3 separate regions of the Homo sapiens genome follow, and all the other regions are linked to region 1. The links are contacts of gene promoters, found by promoter capture Hi-C in human tissues and cell types (Jung and others, 2019). All regions are on one chromosome and are shown on one strand. The core of a region is centred on a gene start or on the middle of the fragment in contact, and the rest is flanking DNA. Distances in the headings are between cores, read along the strand shown. Region 1 holds the start of ACSL6 (acyl-CoA synthetase long chain family member 6). Region 2 overlaps MEIKIN (meiotic kinetochore factor). Region 3 overlaps FNIP1 (folliculin interacting protein 1).

Region 1 (2,700 bases), core at 80-2,579:
GTGCACACAGGCCTGGGCACACACATGCCATGTACTCGTACTACAGATACAGGCCCCCCCACACACCCAGCTGCTGAGCTGTGAGCCCACATGCACTCATGGCTGATGGTCTCTGGTGGGCCTGAAGAGATCTCATGCTCTTCCACTCTCTGCTTCCTGACTTCTGCTCTCTGGTTTTCTATCCTCTTCTTTCTGGGCTGTGGCTCAGCCAGCTCCTGGCCTGGGAGGGCTGCGTATAGAGAAGGCCCGGCTGCCTGAGCGCTGTCCTCGGTGCTGGAGTCCTGGTGGGCTCTGCATGCTTGAGGAAAACAAGCAAGGGCATTGGGAAGAGGTGATCTTGCTTGGAGGTGCAGATGTTCATGGGGTGCCCACCAGGATGCCTACCCTTATTATTTCAGAAAATGTGCAACTGGGCTTCCTCCTTTCAATGGCAGACACTGCAACAGGTGTCCAAGCCCTCAGCCCAGCAGTGTGGGCATCTGTGGCTGTGTGTGGCTATATGGCCATTTATTGTGGCTATGAGGGGCTTCTTGAGACCTCGTGTGCCACATACAGTTGTGTACGAAGATCATGATTTCCTCATGAGACACCTGTGATTCCATGTGGCTGCCTGTGACCATGTTACTACTGGTGAACACATATGGCAGCCTGTGATCACACTGAGTCTCCTGTGACCTTGCGTAGCCTCAGACCTGAACTCGTGCGTCCCCAGATGATCTGGGCACTATCTGGTCTAGCTGCCTGATTTGTCAGAGCCTAGGTGAACACTTGCCACTCCCTCCCCTCACTGGTTTGCAGAGGTGGCACCCGGAGGCTCCCCATGTCTGCAAACTCGGGTCCTAGGGGGCGTTGGTGTCAGCGGGCAACAGCCCACAGGAGTGTGCACCTCCTAGGACAGGTAACCGCGACCCGGCTGCCATTCGAGCCTGCCCAGCCATAAAACCCAGGCTGCGAGTCGCGCGGGGGCAGGGTCGCGTGTTGATGGGGTGGGTGGCGGCGGGGTGGGCTCAATGTCACGCTCTGGCGCTCGTCGCCCGTGCTCCCCCTTCCAGCCGGTTTCCGCAGAATGCCAGGTACTGACGTTGGAGAGCGGGGCCGGAGAGGGCTGGTTCGCTCTGCGGCCGGGCCCCTCCCCCGCCCGGGAGCTTGGCGGTTCCGACACCGCGGTCAGTGCGGGGCAAGCCCCAGACCCGGCCGGCCAGGCTGCAGGGCAGGGAGTAAGGCTCGGTTGCGAGTGCGCGCCGCGCCCTCCCCCTTGAGCCGTCTCCGCAGCGGCGCGGGGAGGCGGGAGCTGCGGGGCCGGAGGGCGGGGGCTAAAAATACCCGGCAGCGGCGGCGGCGGCGCGGCTACTGCTGGGGCTGCTGGGCTGCGGGGCTGCGGGGCTGCGGGTCGGGGAGGCCGGGCCGGGCCGGGCCGGGCCCCGCTGACCGCCATGCTGACCTTCTTCCTCGTGTCGGGGGGCTCCCTCTGGCTATTCGTAGGTAAGTGCCCGTCCTGTCCGCGTCCCGGACTCCCATCTCCCGCAGGCTATGAGGTCTTCGCCCGAGGTGGAGGTGTTACATCTCCGCGGCCGCCGAGCCCCCATCCCCTGCTGCTGAGCTGTCCCGTCAAGGTCCCCAGGGCCGCCTAAGTACACCCTCCGCCCCCAGTTCTCGCGGGCTCCGGGCCGGGTTTGGGGAGCACCTGGGTCTGCGGAGGGAGATATAGGGCTTGCTCTCTGCGACCCCACCACAAACCCCCGCCGAGTTCTTGCGTCCCCCTTCCCTGATGGCAAGGACCATCCGCGGATCAGATTAGGCCCTGAGCCAAGGCCAGGAACAGACATTGCGTCCTTGTCCATCTCCTGGGACCAGAAACCGAGGGTGTTGGTCCCCGAGGTCCCACAGCAGGTCAGCTATGTAACCCGGACTGACCTAGGCTTCCTGATCCCGGCGAGGGGCTTCCTCACGACCCCTCCCTGCCCGTCCTTCAGCCAGAGTACAAGATTTCTGTAAGGTAGGGTTCACCTGGCTCCTCTGCTCTGCCCAGGGCTGCTGTGTCTCCACTGTTTCCAGACCCCTCCCCTCCACCTCACAGGAGTCAGCTTCACCACTGCACTTCTTAGGCGGCTACAAGGACCCCTGCTCGATCCCGCCTCCGCGCTTACCTCCCTCAACCCCCCATACACCCACACCTGGAGTCTCACCACAGGCCCTTTTATCTGCCAGTTCTACCACCTGCACCGGCTACTTCCCCTCTCTGAGCCTGGGGTCCTCCAGAGTATAATACCACTAAAGGATCTCCACCTCCACCCCAACCCCCATGTGCAGATTCAGCCTGATAATTTGTGTGCAGTGCTTGATCCTTAAATTGGCCTTAAACCTGTCCTAGGCCACAGCAAATGCTCTATGAATGTTAGTGTTTATTATTATCTCACATTCAAACAGCACCATCAGAAGTGGTAATAAAGCTTTTTCTGAGCCAAGGAAGGGGAGGAAGTTGACCCTCTTGAAATCTTTACCTGAGGCTTTGTACGTGTTATTTAATATTCATGGAAAACCCTAGGAGGTCGGTGGCACCATCCCTTTTTTTACTGAGTTCAGAGGTCAATTGACTTGCCTAGTGTCACATGGATATTTGGCAGACTGGGATTCCATTCGAGGTTTTAATTGATCAACCAATGCTAAGTGCTTGGCTGGATCAGGCCTGAACCTGGAGGG
Region 2 (2,978 bases), core at 149-2,648, 170 kb after region 1:
CAGTGTCTTGAAAACTGTTGTTTCATATATTTTTTTCTGATTTATTTTTGTTGTTTTAGGTGAAAGGGTAAGTCTGGAATGATATAGATTGGCTCTGTGTCCTCTCCCAAATCTCTTGTTGAATTGTATTCCCAGTGTTGGGGGAGGGATCTAGTGGGAGGTGATTGAATCATGGGGGCAGTTTCCCCCTTGCTGTTCTTGTGACAGTGAGTGAATGCTCACGAGATCTAGTTGTTTGAAAGTGTGTGGCACTTCTCCCTTTTCTTTTTCTCCTGTTGCCACATGAAGATATGCTTGCTTCCACCTCACATTCTGCCGTAACCATGTTTCCTGAGGCCTCCCCAGCCATAACTCCTGTACAGCCTGTGGAACTGTGAGTCAATTAAACCTCTTCTCTTTATAAACTACCCAGTCTCAGGTAGTTATTTATAGCAATGTGAGAACAGACTAATACAGAAAATTGATATCAGAGAAATGGGGCATTGCTATAAAGGTACCTGAAAATATGATAGCAGCTTTGGAACTGAGTAATGGGCAGAGACTGAAACAGTTTGGAGGGCTCAGAAGAAGACAGGAACATGAGGGAAGGTTTGGAACTTCCTGGAGACTTGTTGAATGGTTTTGACCAAAATGCTGATAGTGATATGGACAGAGATGGCCAGGCTGATGAGGTCTCAGATGGAGCTGAGGAACTTATTGGGAGCTGGAGTAAAGGTTACTCTTGCTATGCTTTAGTAAATATACTGGCAGCATTGTGCTCCTGCTGTAAAGATCTGTGGAACTTTGAACTTGAGAGAAATAATTTAAGATATCTGGTGGGAGAAATTTTTAAGCAAAGCATTCAAGACGTGGCTTGGCTTCTTCTAACAGCCTATGTTTATATGTGTTGTTCACAAAGAGGTGGTCTGAATTGGAACTTACATTTAAAAAGGAAGAAGAGCATAAAAGTATGGAAAATTTGTGGCCTGACCAGGTGGTAGAAAAGAAAAACCCATTTTCTGATGGGAGAAATTCAAGCCAGCTGCAGAAATTTGTGTAAGTAAAGAGGAGCTGTGTTAATATCCAAGACAGTGGGAAAAATACCTACAGGGAATTTCAGAGACCTTCACAACAGCCCCTCCCATCACAGGCCTGGAGGCCTGGGAGGGAAAAATGGTTTTCTGGACCAGGCCCAGGGCCTTGCTGCTCTGTGCAGCCTTGGGACATGGCGCCCTACATCCCAGCCACTCCAATTCCATCCATGGCCAAAAGGGGCCAAGGTACAGTTCAAGTTATTGCTTAAGAGGGTAAGCCCCAAACCTTGGTGGCTTCCACATGGTGTTGGGCCTGCAGGTGCACAGAAGGCAAGAGTTGAGGTTTGGGAACCTCTGCCTAGATTTCAGAGGCTGTATGGAAACACCTGGACATCCAGGCAGAAGTCTGCTGCAGGGGCAGAGCCCTCATGGAAAACCTCTACTAGGGCAGTGTGGAGGGAAAATGTGGGGTTGGAGCTACCATCATTTGTTAAAGACTACACAAAATAAAAAGATGTTGTAAAGCATGATATCCAAAGCATAAAATGTGGAAGGGTGGAGTAAAAGCATAGAATGTATGTGATTGAAGTTAAGTTGTTATCAGCTTAAAATAGAATGTTCTAACTACAAGATGTTTTATGTGAGCCCTATGGTAACCACAGAGAACAATCCTTTAGTAAATACACAAAAGATAAATAGAAAAGAATGAACACACACTATTGCAAAAAAAAATCAACAAATCACAATGAAAAACATCAAGAGAAGAAAAAACGTATTATCATTGCAATCAATGCTTAAAAACCATTGACAAAATCCAAAATTTTTAATGATAAAAACTCTCAACAAATTAGGTATAGATGGAATGTACCTCAACACAATAAAGGCCATTAATGATAAGCCCACAACTAATATACTCAATGATAAAAAGCTGAAAGTTTCTTCTAAAATGAGCAACAAGACCTGAGTACCCATTCTTGCTACTTCTATTCAGCATAGTACTAGAAGTCTGAGCCAGAGCAATTAGGCAATGAAAAGAAATAAAAAGCATCCACATTGAAAAAGAAGTTGGCCAGGCAAGGTGGCTCACACCTGTAATCCCAGCACTTTGGGAGACCGAGGCAGGCAGATCACGAGGTCAAGAGATTGAGATCATCCTGGCCAACATGGTAAAACCCCATCTCTACTAAAAATACAAAAATTAGTTGGGCGTGATGGCATGCACCTGTAGTCCCTGAACCTGTGAGGTGGAGGTTGCAGTGAGCCAAGATCGTGCCACTGCACTCCAGACTGGAGACAGAGTGAGACTCTGTCTCAAAAAAAAAAAGAAGTTAAATTGTCTCTGTAGATGACATGATTTCACATGAAAGAAAAACTAAAGACTTCAATGAAAACTGTTAGAACTAATAAACAATATCTTATTACAGGATACAAAGTCAATATACAAAAATCAGTTGTCTTTATTCACTAACAGTGAGCTTCCAAAAAAGGGATTAAGAAAATAATATCCTTAGGAACAAATACAACCAAGGAGGCAAAAGAGCTATATACTAAAAATTATAAGACATTAATGAAAGAAATTGAAGGCACAAATAAATGTAATGATATACCATTTCATTGATTGGAGGAAGTAATGTTGTTAAAATGTCCACATGTCAAAGTGATCTACAGATTCGTTACAATCATTATCCAGATTCCCATGTAATTTTTCACAGAAATAGAAAAAACAATCCTAAAATTCATATGGAACCACAAAAGATTTCAAATAGCCAAAGCAATCTTTAGAAACAACAAAGCTGGAGGCATCACACCTCCTAATTTCAAGCTATATTTGAAAACAATAGTAGTCTATACCTGTGTAACAGTATGGTACTGGTATAGAAACAGACATACTGCTGCTGTAAATGCCCGTAGGGAGGCAGGCACCCTAGGATCCACTAGCACCCTGCTGTAGCTGATGAGTATGTG
Region 3 (2,848 bases), core at 17-2,516, 220 kb after region 1:
TTAAGGCTGCAGTGATGAGCCATGATTGCGCCACTGCACTAGTCTAGCCTGGGCAACAGAGTGAAATCCTGTCTCAAAAAAAAAGATTGTTTTAAATAAAATTCCTGAAAACTAATTTGGCAAAGAAGGTTGTTTTGAAGTGAAATGTTTGTAGGGCATAATTAATGTTTTGTTAAATAATGTCTGGATTTTTGTTATACAGGTTGAGTATCCTTTACCTGAAATGCCTGGTTCTAGAAGTGTTTTGGATTGTGGAATTTTTTGGATTTTTGAATACTTGCATATGCATAATGTGTTTTTTCAGAGGTGGGACCTAAGTCTAAACATAAAATTCATTTTTATTTCATACATACCTTGTACACATAATAGCACATAATTTATACAGTACTTTTTAATGATTTTGTGCACAAAGTGTCGACTGCATTTTGACTCCTCACATGAAGTCAGATGTGAAGTTTTCCACTGTGGCGTCTTGTCAGTGATCAAAAAAATTTTGGACTAGAGATGCTCATCCTGTATCCCAAATATATGAACATTTATTCTGATTCTTTATATCAGGGATTCTTAAGGTACTCAGCCTTTTAACTGGTCTTTCTGTGATCACTCTTGCCTTTTTCCAAACTACCCTCAATATGTCACTTTTTAAAAAGTGCCAATTGTGGCTGGGCACGGTGGCTCATGCCTGTAATCCCAGCACTTTGGGAGGCCGAGGCAGGTGGATCACCTGAGGTCAGGAGTTCCAGACCAGCCTGGCCAATGTGGTGAAACCCCATCTCTACTAAAAATGCAAGAATCAGCTGGGTGTGGTGGCGGGCGCCTGTAATCCCAGCTACTCAGGAGGCTGAGGCAGGAGAATCGCTTGAACCCGGGAGGCGGAGGTTGCAGTGAGCTGAGATCGCGCCATTGCACTCCACCCTGGGCAACAAGAGTGAAACTCCGTCTCAAAAAAAAAAAAAAAAAGTGCCAGTTATCATCATGAACAGCAGACAAAATGAGACAAAATGATGTATAGAATTTAATATCTTCATAACAGGTTTATTTTAAGGATTCAGAGATAAGTCATGTAAAGAACTTAATGTGGTGCTTAGCACATGGCTTTCAGGAACCAGAAGTAGTTGTTACTGTTATATCAGTTTTGTGTAAAAACCACTTAGTTTGGGCCCAGACTCATTAAAGGATGGCTTTTGCCCATTCTACATAGTATGGCTTTTGCTAATTTGCTAGCCTTGACTTTTTTTTTTTCTTTCCATAATGACATTTTTTAAAAAAGCCACTATAGTATTATTGTTAATAGAATTAACAGAAATTCCTTAATAAAAGCCATTCTTAGTCCATATTCCAATTTGGTGTCATCTCAATATGTCTTTTTATGGTAGTTTTGTTTGAATCAGTCTTAAGAGTCTGTATATTGCATTTGCAGTTAGGCAGCTTAAGTAAATTTTATTCTATAACAGCCCTCCCCCACTTAAATGTGAAATTCCCCACATTCTGTGTTTGGCTTTTCCAGTCTTATGGTTTCCCAGCAATATGTGGTTTAAAAAGCCCCTCCAGGCAATTCTGATGCTCAGGTTTGCTGTAAGTTTGCTATAACCTATTTCTCTGTTTCTTGTCTTTCCTGAAAACTTGAAGTTCGATTTAGATATTTTATCATATTTACATTCCCTTTTTTTCAATAAAATTATTTTGTAGATGTTGTGTACTTCCTATTCATCAAAGTTACCTACCTGGTTGCCCCACTTGTAGTGATTTCAGGTGGTATCAGCCTTATTCTTCTATTACATAATTTGCCCTTTAACTAATGATTTTAGCATTCTTTGTTGATCATTGCCTGAATTCATTATTTTGTTAGAGTTTGCAAAATGGTGATATCCTGATTCTCTAATTTTTTATGCATTTATTTGCTGGAATAACTTTTATCAACTATTTGGTTACTCCTTGCTACAGAAAAGGGAGCATAAAAGGTGATTTCCCTTTGTCATTTTCCAAAGTAATTGGTAATGAGCTGTTCACTGCAGGTTTTTTGTTTTAATTATCATCTTAAAAGATTATCATGAGCTATTGGATTTTAGTGTGTTTTAATCCACTCCTGTCAAATTGTCTCATATTTGGCCAATGGAAGCCTTTTTAGGTTGACTTCTGTTTCTTTTTGACATGACCTCATTAATCTTTGATAACTTCTTGCTTTCTTCTGGCCTATGTCTTAATCTACACTCCTCCTTCTAAGAGTTTATCACCTTTGATTTATTTTAGATTCTGGGATGTGCCAAGCTGTACTGCTCCCTGTTCTTGATATAGTCCCTTATACCTTTTTGTTTGGCTTTTTGTAGTGATCATCTGGGCTTATTCTAATTACTACTTCCTCCAGGAAGCCTTTTCTGATTTCTTCCAGACTAGAGTAGGTCTGACTGTAACTTTGTTTCATAGCTTATTGCATGTCCTTCTGTGACATCTGTCATAGTTGTCATTGTCCACGTCTCTCTTCTTTGCTTACTTGAGCCTTTTCTTCAGTGTTAAGCATCAAGATTTATTTTATAGTCAGAACTCTGTAAATTCACGTAAGGGGTTGTGTATGGGGAATAGATGCCTAGGTTTTTGGCTGGAGCAACTAAGTAGGTGCCTTTTTTTTTTTTTTTTTTTTTTTTGAGACAGGTTCTTGCTCTATCGCCCAGGCGGGAGAGCGGTGGTGCGATCTTGGGTCACTGCAACCTCCGCCTCCTGGGCTTAAGCCATCTCCCCACCTCAGCCTCCCGAATAGCTGGGACTGCAAGGTGTGGGCCATCATGGCTGGCTAATTTTTTATTTTTTGTAGACACGGGGTTTCGCCACGTTGCCCAGGCCAGTATAGAGG

The links. The method cuts DNA at HindIII sites, captures the fragments that hold promoters and counts their contacts. A contact is called where the count stands out against the background at its distance.
Region 2: a fragment that was not itself captured here is called in contact with the fragment with the promoter of ACSL6 in region 1 in 1 of the 25 tissues and cell types used here (aorta).
Region 3: a fragment that was not itself captured here is called in contact with the fragment with the promoter of ACSL6 in region 1 in 1 of the 25 tissues and cell types used here (mesendoderm cells).

What each region holds. Positions count from the first base shown.
Region 1 is chr5:132,010,287-132,012,986 of GRCh38, reverse strand. It overlaps ACSL6 (acyl-CoA synthetase long chain family member 6), which reads left to right and starts at 1,329. Exons shown (of 21, transcript NM_001009185.3): 1 at 1,329-1,482. The coding sequence starts at 1,434. It overlaps LOC124901062 (a long non-coding RNA gene), which reads right to left and starts at 1,531. Exons shown (of 2, transcript XR_007058933.1): 1 at 1,442-1,531. The HindIII fragment of the contact is 8,903 bases long and covers 1-2,700 here.
Region 2 is chr5:131,841,367-131,844,344 of GRCh38, reverse strand. All of the region lies in intron 11 of MEIKIN (meiotic kinetochore factor), which reads left to right. Among named protein-coding and RNA genes, the nearest start is that of FNIP1, 46 kb to the right of the region's middle. The HindIII fragment of the contact is 8,494 bases long and covers 1-2,978 here.
Region 3 is chr5:131,790,273-131,793,120 of GRCh38, reverse strand. The region is part of intron 1 of FNIP1 (folliculin interacting protein 1); the gene reads left to right. Among named protein-coding and RNA genes, the nearest start is that of FNIP1, 5.3 kb to the left of the region's middle. The HindIII fragment of the contact is 6,324 bases long and covers 1-2,848 here.